Linked DNA regions of Homo sapiens: region 2 is linked to region 1. The links are contacts of gene promoters, found by promoter capture Hi-C in human tissues and cell types (Jung and others, 2019). All regions are on one chromosome and are shown on one strand. The core of a region is centred on a gene start or on the middle of the fragment in contact, and the rest is flanking DNA. Distances in the headings are between cores, read along the strand shown. Region 1 holds the start of SAMD9L (sterile alpha motif domain containing 9 like). Region 2 overlaps PEX1 (peroxisomal biogenesis factor 1).

Region 1 (4,792 bases), core at 1,209-3,708:
GGTCCAAGCCTTCCTCATCTCTTTCCTGGATTATAGGAATAGCTTCCTTGCCAGGTTCCCTCTTGCTGTTATTGATCTCTTCAGGGACTTCTCAAAAAAGCAGCCGGAATGACCCTGTTAAAATGTAAACATCATATCAATGTTGTGTCCAACCCTGTCTGTGGCTTTCCATCTGACAAGGCCTCACACAATCTGGTACCCTGCTAATCCTCTGATATTAGGTCTTTTATTTTTCCCTCTAAATCTGGCCCAGTCCCCTGACCTCCTCGTTGCTTCCTGAAGGAAGCACCTGCCCCTGTTTCCAGCCACTACACTTGTTTTCCCTTCCTGGAATGTCCCTGGATACCAGCAGGGCTCACTCTTTCACTTTGTTGAGATCTTTTGTCAAATGTCACCTTCTCAGCAAGGCACTGTTTGGCCAGCCTACTGAAAACTTTATCCCACCTCCCAACATTTCCTATCCCTCTTCTGGCTTCATTTTTTATCTACTTAGGACTTACAAGCAGCAAATATTTTATATATTTTAACCTATTTATTTTCTGTCCAACCCATTATTCTATGCACTCCATAAGGACAAATTTCTTTACATTTTGTTCATTATCTGGCATTGCCTAGCACATAATAGCTTCTTAACAAAAATCTGTTAAATGAGTAACACATTTTCTTAGAGTAGTTAAAAGTAATGAATATTTGAAAGGCCTTGAGCTACCAGTGTCTGTGGGTCAAAGGACTTCCTCATTTTCCTAGGGAAATTATTTCGCTTGGCTGGAACTCCAGGTAGAAATCTGGGGAAATCTCTTTACTGTGCTACCCGTTAGGCCAGAATGAACTCCAGCTTCTATCATCTGGTCACAAATAATGAAAAGGAAGTTTTTTTTTCAAAAGGAAAGCAAAACAAATGAATATATTTTCTCCTGCAGTTTTTGTAGATACCCTAGTTACAGACTACACCTTACCAACTTTCTGCTGTGTCACTCACAGTCACCGAATGAGGCCATTTCTCACACAGCGTTTTCCCTGGAGGAGGTCCCTTTTGACTCTAGGTCCCCAGTGTCTTAAGACCTTTGCTGTTTTCACCCTCTGCCTTTGCTGGGAAGCTGCTCTTCTGGCAAGGGGCTTACACTTTCCACAGACACAGTCTGCTCGGGTGAGATGCAATACCTTCTTTTAGCTGGTGTCCTCTTTCAGAAATTTAACCAGCCAGTCTCTCTCTGGAAATGCTAAAGATGGAAAAAACAGACTCCAGATTTTTTCTTTCGTTTTAGCCAGTACAATTTTAAGAGCATCTGGATGTATGCTGTTGGAACTAAGTAACAATCAAAATGACCATGATTAGTGTGGACAAATTTTGTGATTGCCTTGACTTAAGTCTTGGCTTTCTAGGGGCCCTCAGTGTCCTGTTTTGAAACAATTGTGAAGACAAATATTATCTTTAGCAACGTTGGTTATTGACAAAGGAGTTGCAGGTTGGCATCCTCAACACTTCAGTTTTCTCTCTTTGATGCTCAGCAAGAATTTCCAAGTCAGCAAACTCTCAGGGACAAGCCCACCCCATCTTTGAGAGACCCTCAGCAACACCGCTGATATCCATGCCCTAGGGAGGTGTTCTGCTCTGCAGGATTCTTAGAACTGATGTAGGGGAAACACACTTCAGAATCTGGCTGTAGCCCAGGAGAGCTACCCACACCCTCCTTGCATAGTCTGGCAGACAGAAGCCACACAAGCAAGTTAGTTTCGTTTTCCTGAAGAACACTTTGCATTTTTTTTCTTAGTTTTCAACCAGATTGCTGGATAAGATGTATGTGAATGAAATACTTTAATAGAATAATATTTAGCCTCTGCAGAGTATTAACTTTGATAAAATGTAAAAGTTTTAATAACATCTTACGTTATGAAGACAGAATTTTGTGTAATTACACAAGATCACACGTTCCTTTAGAATCTTCAGTGCTTAAATTCCTGACCCTGTTTGCATCGTTTCTCTATCCTCTTTTCCAAAGCCTGCCTGCCACAATCAGAAACCCTCCCACTATCCTAATTACACTTAATGGTATGTTTCTTTTTAGAAGAGCACTTACAAAGTTATTATCAGTTAAATATACTGACATGTATTTAATCCATTGATTTTTCTAATTACTCTAGTATTTTTATAAGTAATCGTTTATGTACAAACATATATTTATATAAAAAGTACAGCTGAAGTTTTAAAAAATAGCTGTCGCCTCAAAAGCATAACAAATAAAGGTTTAATGATTCAGTTTACTTACCAGGATTTTCCTGAAAATGTCATCGTTTTATATCAGAAACTTGAAACAGGCCATTTGAACTTTTGCTGTCTCATTCCTCTTCTGATGGCTAGGAGACATGAAGTGTAAGGATCCTTTTTTAAAAACTGAGGCATTAAATTGTGAAGTCTTCTGTTCTCCCAGTACTCTGACTTTCTGAGGGTGTGTCAGAGTGCCAGTTGAGAAGCAGGAGGAAGTTGAAGTATAGACAGTTTCAGTTTTGCTTTAGAACATTCTTTTTTCTTGAGTTTAGAAGGATCTGAAATGTTTTTTAATCAATAACATTACCAAAAATATCAATAAATTTGAATCACTGCTTAGAAACTGTTTACCAGGCAGATTTTTAAGTTATAAGAGTTAAGGAATAAGGAAACAACAAACAAACAAACAAAAAAACCCAGTGACCCAAAAAACTACCTACAGGACAAAGAGAATGGAAATACCAGGGAGAAAATTAATATGTCAGTGCAATCTAAGTTCCTGTTACTGGTTGAATTGTGTCCCCCAAACATTCATATGTTAAAGTCCTAATCCTCACTCCCTCCAAATGTAACTGTATTTGGAGATAAGGTCTTTCAGGAGATAATTAAGTTAAAATGAGGTCATTAGAGTGTCTGTAATTGAATCTGACTGTGTCCTTGTAAGAAGACGAGATTGGGACACAGACACATACAGAGGGAAGACCATGTGAAGACACAAAGAAAAGATGGCCATCTACAAGCCAAGGAGAGAGACATCAGAAGAAACCAACCCTGATAATGTCAGAGACATTCGAACCAGAGTGACTCCATTTTGAATGAGGGCTACGAAAATGAGGCTGAGACTTGCTGGGCTGCCTTCTCAGAAAGGTAGGCATTCCTAGCCTCTAGATGTTTATGATTAAGGGAGCAAATTAATAATATTTACTAAGCAGACCGTGACTTGGGAGTGTCCAGATATCCCAATATCTGGAGAACAGAGGCATTCTTAATTTTGCTTTAAAGAAAATAATATTGATTCTTGCAAAATACACTAATTAAGAAAATTAATTCTTTATCAGAAACCCTTGTAGCAAAACACATCTCTCCATATATACAAGCATTGTACCTAGGGTGGATGTGTTCCTCCTCTTACTTTCGGGAACGTCCTACTCTGTCTGTGGAGTAGCTGTCCTTTTACCACTGTACTTTCTTAATAAACTTGCTTTTACTTTGCACTGTGGACTCGCCCTGAATTCTTTCTTGCATGAGCTCCAAGAACCCTCTCTAGGGGTCTGGATTGGAACCCTGGTCCTGTAACATTTCTGGCAACCATGAGGGACCGATACTGAAGAACCTCCCCACCAACCCAAAGGAAATGGACTATAGCACTGATTGGATGACTTTGGGTAAGTGGTGGGGTACCCGGGTAAAGAATGGGATTGGGTTAGAGGCCCAACTTAGGGGAATTAGAGTCTCTCCGAAGACAGGGTGAATTAGAGACCCCTGTTAATAAAAGGCAAAGATGCTTGACTGACCTCGGATTAGAGGACCAACTTAAAAGGTTTAGAGTTCCTTCTAAGATTTAGGGGGTTAGAGGGCCCTCTCAGTAAAGTCCCTCTCTGCTAAAAAAGGGTTTGGCACTGCAGGCTATGCACTTTGTATTAATCTGCCTTGTCCTCCTTGCTGCATAAATCAATTTCTTGGTTGCTGTCTGTGTTTCACTGTCATTTTCGGGAGACTTTATCTAAATGGTCTTAGGGATTTTAACTTACTCTTTTCCTATGTGCCTCCTGATTTCCATGTGTCTGCTCTTGAAACATTGGGAACAAAAAGCATTGACGGCTCCGTCTTTAAAATTGCTGATTGAGATTTGGTATTCAACAGCTATGAGCAATAAAATTAGATTATGTTTTGTTGCTGCTATGCCGACTAGGTGTGATCGAGAAGCACTAGGATGGAAATCAGGGGACTCTGATGTTTTGTTTCACTTTGCACACTAAAAACACTTCTTTCCTTTCTTGCATTCAGGCAAACCGGCTTTGCTTGTTCAATCCACACTGTCTCTATTGCCCAGAACCTGCTTGCTCTGGTCATTCCCATCTAAATCCTCTTCATTTCCCTTGCCTTATTCAACATTTTTGTCAAAGTCCATGTTGTGGTTTATCTAAGATTCATGACTCAGCTCACTTATGTTATTTGGATAATGTGAATCATGTTTGATGAGAGGAAAAGAGGAAAAAAAGCTAGACATACTAGATGATCCTTTAATGCAAGCAACCTTGGTTCAGCAGGCAGTTTTGGGTGGAGCAGAACCTCCTTCTGTCAGCTCTGAAGGTTCAGATGTGTCTGTCCTTTCTCCCTCTATCCCCTTGGAGAACCCTTTGTCCCATCCTCCTTACCCATCTAGCCCCACTCTATACCCACCACTCCCTGAGGAACTTAGCCTGGTGAGTACTACCCCTAGTGGAGCCTCCTATCAACCTCCAAAGGGAAACCTTTGTCCACTTAGAGAGGTGGCAAATGGGGAAGAAGGCACTGTGAGAGTAC
Region 2 (4,792 bases), core at 914-3,413, 630 kb before region 1:
CTGCCTCAGCCTCCTGAGTAGCTGAGATTACAGGATTAGCACCACGCCCCGATAATTTTGGTATTTTTAGTAGAGATGGGGTTTCACCATGTTGGCCAGGCTGGTCTCCAACTCCTGACCTCAAGTGATCCACCCATCTCAGCCTCCCGAAGTGTTGGGATAACAGGCGTGAGCTACCACGCCTGGCTTAATTTTTTTTTTAATTTTTTTGTAGAGATGGGGTCTTGCTATGTTGCCCAGGCTATTCTCAAACTCTTGGCCTCAAGCAATCCTCCCACCTCAGCTTCCCAAAGTGCTAGGATTACAGGTGTGAGCCACTGGACCCCACCTGCAAAGATCTTTAAGTTCAATATCTCATTTCCTGACTCTACCAGTATCCAAAGAATTAACTGAGTAAAAAGTAAAACAGTCTAGCACTCTTTTAGGCTACAATATTAATACTGAAACAACATGGGACAATTTTTTTTAATTACAACCACGTGGCAAAATGATCAATCTCTTAAAAGCCAAAAATATTCATATTTGCATTGGCAAATATAAGTATTTGTGTTATCATTTATTAAAGATTTCTCAGCTTCTCAAAAAGTTAAACATAATTCCTAGGTATATCCCAAAGGAGCTGAAAAGAGGAACTCAAACAGATACTTGTACACCAATGTTCACTGTAGCATTATTCACAGCAGCCAAAAATGTGGAAACAACCCAAGTGTCCATCAACAGATGAATGGATAAACAAATGTGGTATATGCAGTCAATGGAATAGTATTCAGCCATGAAAAGGAATAACATTCTGATACATACAACACAGATGAGCCTTGAAAACATTATGTTAAATGAAATAAGTCAGATACATAAGACAAATGCATACTTCTACTTATATATGAAATATCTAGAATAAGTAAATTCATAGAGACACAATATACATTAGAGATTACCAGGGACTGGGGAAAGGAGTGGACGGGGAATTATTGTTTAATGGGTACCAAGTTTCTCTTTGGGGTGATGGAAAAGTTCTGGATATAGATAGTGGTGATGGTTGTACAATATTATGAATGTAATTAATGCCTTTGAATTATACACTTAAAAATGGCGAACATGGCATATTTTATGTTATATATAGTTTAACACAATAAAAAAAGATTTGTATCAAAAAGGAATACAACATTCTTATTACTTAGCTAAAGCAACTAGAAATCTTACAAAACGTGTAAAAGAATTTTGATGTAACATATATATTTGAACTCACTAAATTCTCTCTAGGTTGTAACTTTAGAGATCTTGGAATTTTAGGGGTAACTTCCACTGGAGTTATCCTGACTACGGCATGCATTTCTATATTTAGTCTCTTCCTCAGGTCATCTGGAATCTGAAATTTAAAAATAAACAAAAATATAAATATATTCAAAGCTTGGTTAAGAAATATTTCATAGCATAAATATTGATATATTAGCTTCTATGAATTTAGGTGAAATAACAGAAGCTATCATAATAACTCATAGTTGTCTCAGTCCATGCAGGCTGCTATATCAAAATATCCTAAACTGGGTGGCTAACAAACGACAGAAACTTATTTCTCACAGTTCTCTTTTATAAGAGCACGAATCCCATTCATGAAGGCTTCACCTTCATGACCTAATCACTTCCCAAAGACCACACCTCCTAATACGATCACCTTGGGAGTTGGGATTTCGACATATGAATTTGAGGAGGACAAAACATTCAAATACCAACGGTGTGACCAGATGGATGTTCAGATATTGTTATACCATGAACATTTCAATCCTCTCCCTACATTTCTTTCCTTTTCTTTACATAATCTTCAGAATTAGAGCTTTAAATGTATGTATTTGACTGTATTCACCAAACCCATCTTTTAAACTATGGCACATTTACATTCAAATTAAATGTTATTTCTAATCTTTGAGCAGCCTTTATTTGTGAAAGTTAACAACCAATGAAGAAGCTGGAATGGCCAAAACTAATCACAGACAATCTGCCTGATTGTCTGATTAAATGATTAGATCCAGACAGAAACTTAATCTAAAAAGCAGAGTAAAATTTCTCCCACCCCCTAATGAAAATGTTCTAAACTTAGATTGTGGTGATGGCTGTACAACTAGTATAAATATACTAAAAATGACTGAATTGTACACTTTAAATTTTACCTCAGCCGGGCGCAGTGGCTCACGCCTGTAATCCCAGCACTTTGGGAGGCCGAGGTGGGCGGATCACAAGGTCAGGAGTTTGAGACCAGCGTGGCCAATATGGTGAAACCTCGTCTCTACTAAAACTACAAAAATTAGCCAGGCGTGGTGGTGGGAGCCTGTATCCTAGCTACTCGGGAGGCTGAGGCAAGAGAATCGCTTGAACCTGGGAGGCAGAGCTTGCATTGAGTGGAGATCGCCACCACACTCCGGCCTGGGCGACAGAGTGAGACTCCGTCTCAAGAAAAAAAAAAAAATTATCTATATATATATATATATATATATATATATATATATATATATATATATATATATATCAATAATGATGTTAAAAATTTTTCTCAACTTCCCAAATATAAGTAAGCACTGAAAGACATAAAGACGACTTTACTCTCTATTAACTTCTAAAGAGCAGGTGCAGACATATTAATGGTAGACAAAAGCATAAATAAAAACTCTAAGGTACATATTCTGACTTAAAGAGAATTTAACAATCAAGTTTCCTGTTTGTTTGTTGTTTTTTTTTAATCACCATGCTTCACAGGGTAATAAAGGTTCAAGTTAACATGAATTTGTTAGTTGTATCACCAAGTGATCAATTTTGATCTCTCAAGCCAAGTCCATTTTAGTACCTGATTTCACCTACTGTGACTTCTCATTGTCCATGGCTCTTCAACCTTCAGTGGAGTGGGAAGGGCGGAGTCCTTATTGCTATCTTAATCACAGGACTTTACCATCAGCACTTCTCCCTGTTCTCACCATATAATTTCAAGGAAATAAAAGGATATTCCCATCTAATGACAGAACCAGCTAAATCATAAGCTCAGTGTTAGATATTTTGAATTTGAGGATGCAGTGGGATCTCCTGAACGGACAGTTTAAAGCTAACAGAAAATAATGATCTGAGGCCAGGCACAGTGGCTCACGCCTGTAATCCCAGCACCTTGGGAGACTGAGGCAGGCGGATCACTTGAGACCAGGAGTTCAAGACTAGCCTGGCCAACATGGTGAAACCTCGTCCCTACTAAAAATACAAAAATTAGCCAGGAGTGGTGGCGCACACTTGTAGTCCCAGCTACTCTGAAGGCTGAGGCAGGAGAATCATTTGAACCTGGGAGGTGGAGGTTGTAGTGAGTGGAGGTGGTGCCACTGCACTCCAGCCTGGGCAACAAAGCAAGCTTCTAACTCAAAAAAAGAAAAGAAAAGAGAAGAGAAGAGAAGAGAAGAGAAGAGAAGAGAAGAGAAGAGAAAAAAGAAAAGAAAAGAAAAGAAAAGAAAAGAAAAGAAAAGAAAAGAAAAGAAAAGAATGGTCTGGAGCTTTAGAAAATGATGTAGGCCGGCCAGGAGCAGTGGCTCATGCCTGTAATCCCAGCACTTTGGGAGGCCGAGGCAGGCAGATCACCTGAGGTCAGGAGTTCCAGACCAGGCTGGCTAACATGGTGAAACCCAGTTTCTACTAAAAATACAAAAAATTAGCCAGGCGTGGTGGTGCATGCCTGTAGTCCCAGCTACTCAGGAGGCTGAGGCAGGAGAACCACTTGAACGTGGGAGGCGGAGGTTGCAGTGAGCCAGATCATGCCACTGCACTCCAGCTTGGGCAAGAAGAGTGAAACTCCATCTTGTGGAAAAAAAAAATAGAAAAGAAAATGATGTAGGCCAAAGAGATTAATGCTTTGTCAGTTATTTGTATAAAGGTCACAGGTAAAACTGTTGGAGAAAAAAAAAAAATCTACAAAAGGAGACAACCTTCTCTTTCTATTTTATTCTCTTTCCTAACAAGTTCCTCTCTTTATCACTATGAAGTCTTACTTTACAGTGGTTCAAATTTAGGTTCCAATAAATGGACTAGTGACTTATGTCATATAAAGGTAGCATTAATATTTGTGGCCAGGATGAGGGGCTGGAGCACTAGTTGCCCTGTCTACTTCCTCTCCGTTATACACAAATTAAAGAGCAGACACCGGCAGGGTAAGCAGCTCCTGGATGCATTCCAATCCAGGTGCCACCACATGCAGCAGGAAGGTTACCTCATGCCATGGATCTCTCCCTACACTGGCCCTTTTCCCTAATATTAACAAGTTGCTTTCGGTAACTGGGGAACAAATCTGCAAGCATTAAAGATGGGAGGCTTTGTAGGGCACTCCATCCTGATGAACCCCCAAGTCAATCTGCCTGGGTTTGAATCCTAGTTGTAACACTAGCTATGCAATCTCAGGCAAGTAATTTTGACCTCTCTGGCCTGAACCTATCTAAGCTTGTACCTATTCAAGCTTACTTGGCCAGAAAACATACAATCTTTATCCAAACAAGGACTTTACTGCAAAGCGTAAATGTGTCCCCCAAGTGCCTTTAGGCACTGTGTTTCTTTTTAATTGATTTTCAATTTATATATGAAATACTATTCTAATTCATAATTTGGGGATGTTTAAGCCACATAAAATTTCTCCCAAGTTATAAAATTTATACTAACCCAGACTTTCCCAAGATGGAGAACTTCTACATTTTTGGTATATTTGATGGCATTGTTCAATTCTTCAAGTCCATTCCAGACTACTTGTAGCACACAGGCCTTCTCATCTTCTTCATTA

The links. Contacts are between HindIII fragments. The study calls those that stand out against the background at their distance.
Region 2: a fragment that was not itself captured here is called in contact with the fragment with the promoter of SAMD9L in region 1 in 1 of the 25 tissues and cell types used here (lymphoblastoid cells).

What each region holds. Positions count from the first base shown.
Region 1 is chr7:93,145,927-93,150,718 of GRCh38, forward strand. SAMD9L (sterile alpha motif domain containing 9 like) reads right to left here and starts at 2,459. Exons shown (of 5, transcript NM_152703.5): 1 at 2,268-2,459; 2 at 957-1,220; 3 at 1-114. RefSeq lists an enhancer at 1,659-1,758. The HindIII fragment of the contact is 15,444 bases long and covers 1-4,792 here.
Region 2 is chr7:92,512,602-92,517,393 of GRCh38, forward strand. PEX1 (peroxisomal biogenesis factor 1) reads right to left here. Exons shown (of 24, transcript NM_000466.3): 5 at 4,675-4,792; 6 at 1,247-1,366. Among named protein-coding and RNA genes, the nearest start is that of PEX1, 14 kb to the right of the region's middle. The HindIII fragment of the contact is 6,462 bases long and covers 1-4,792 here.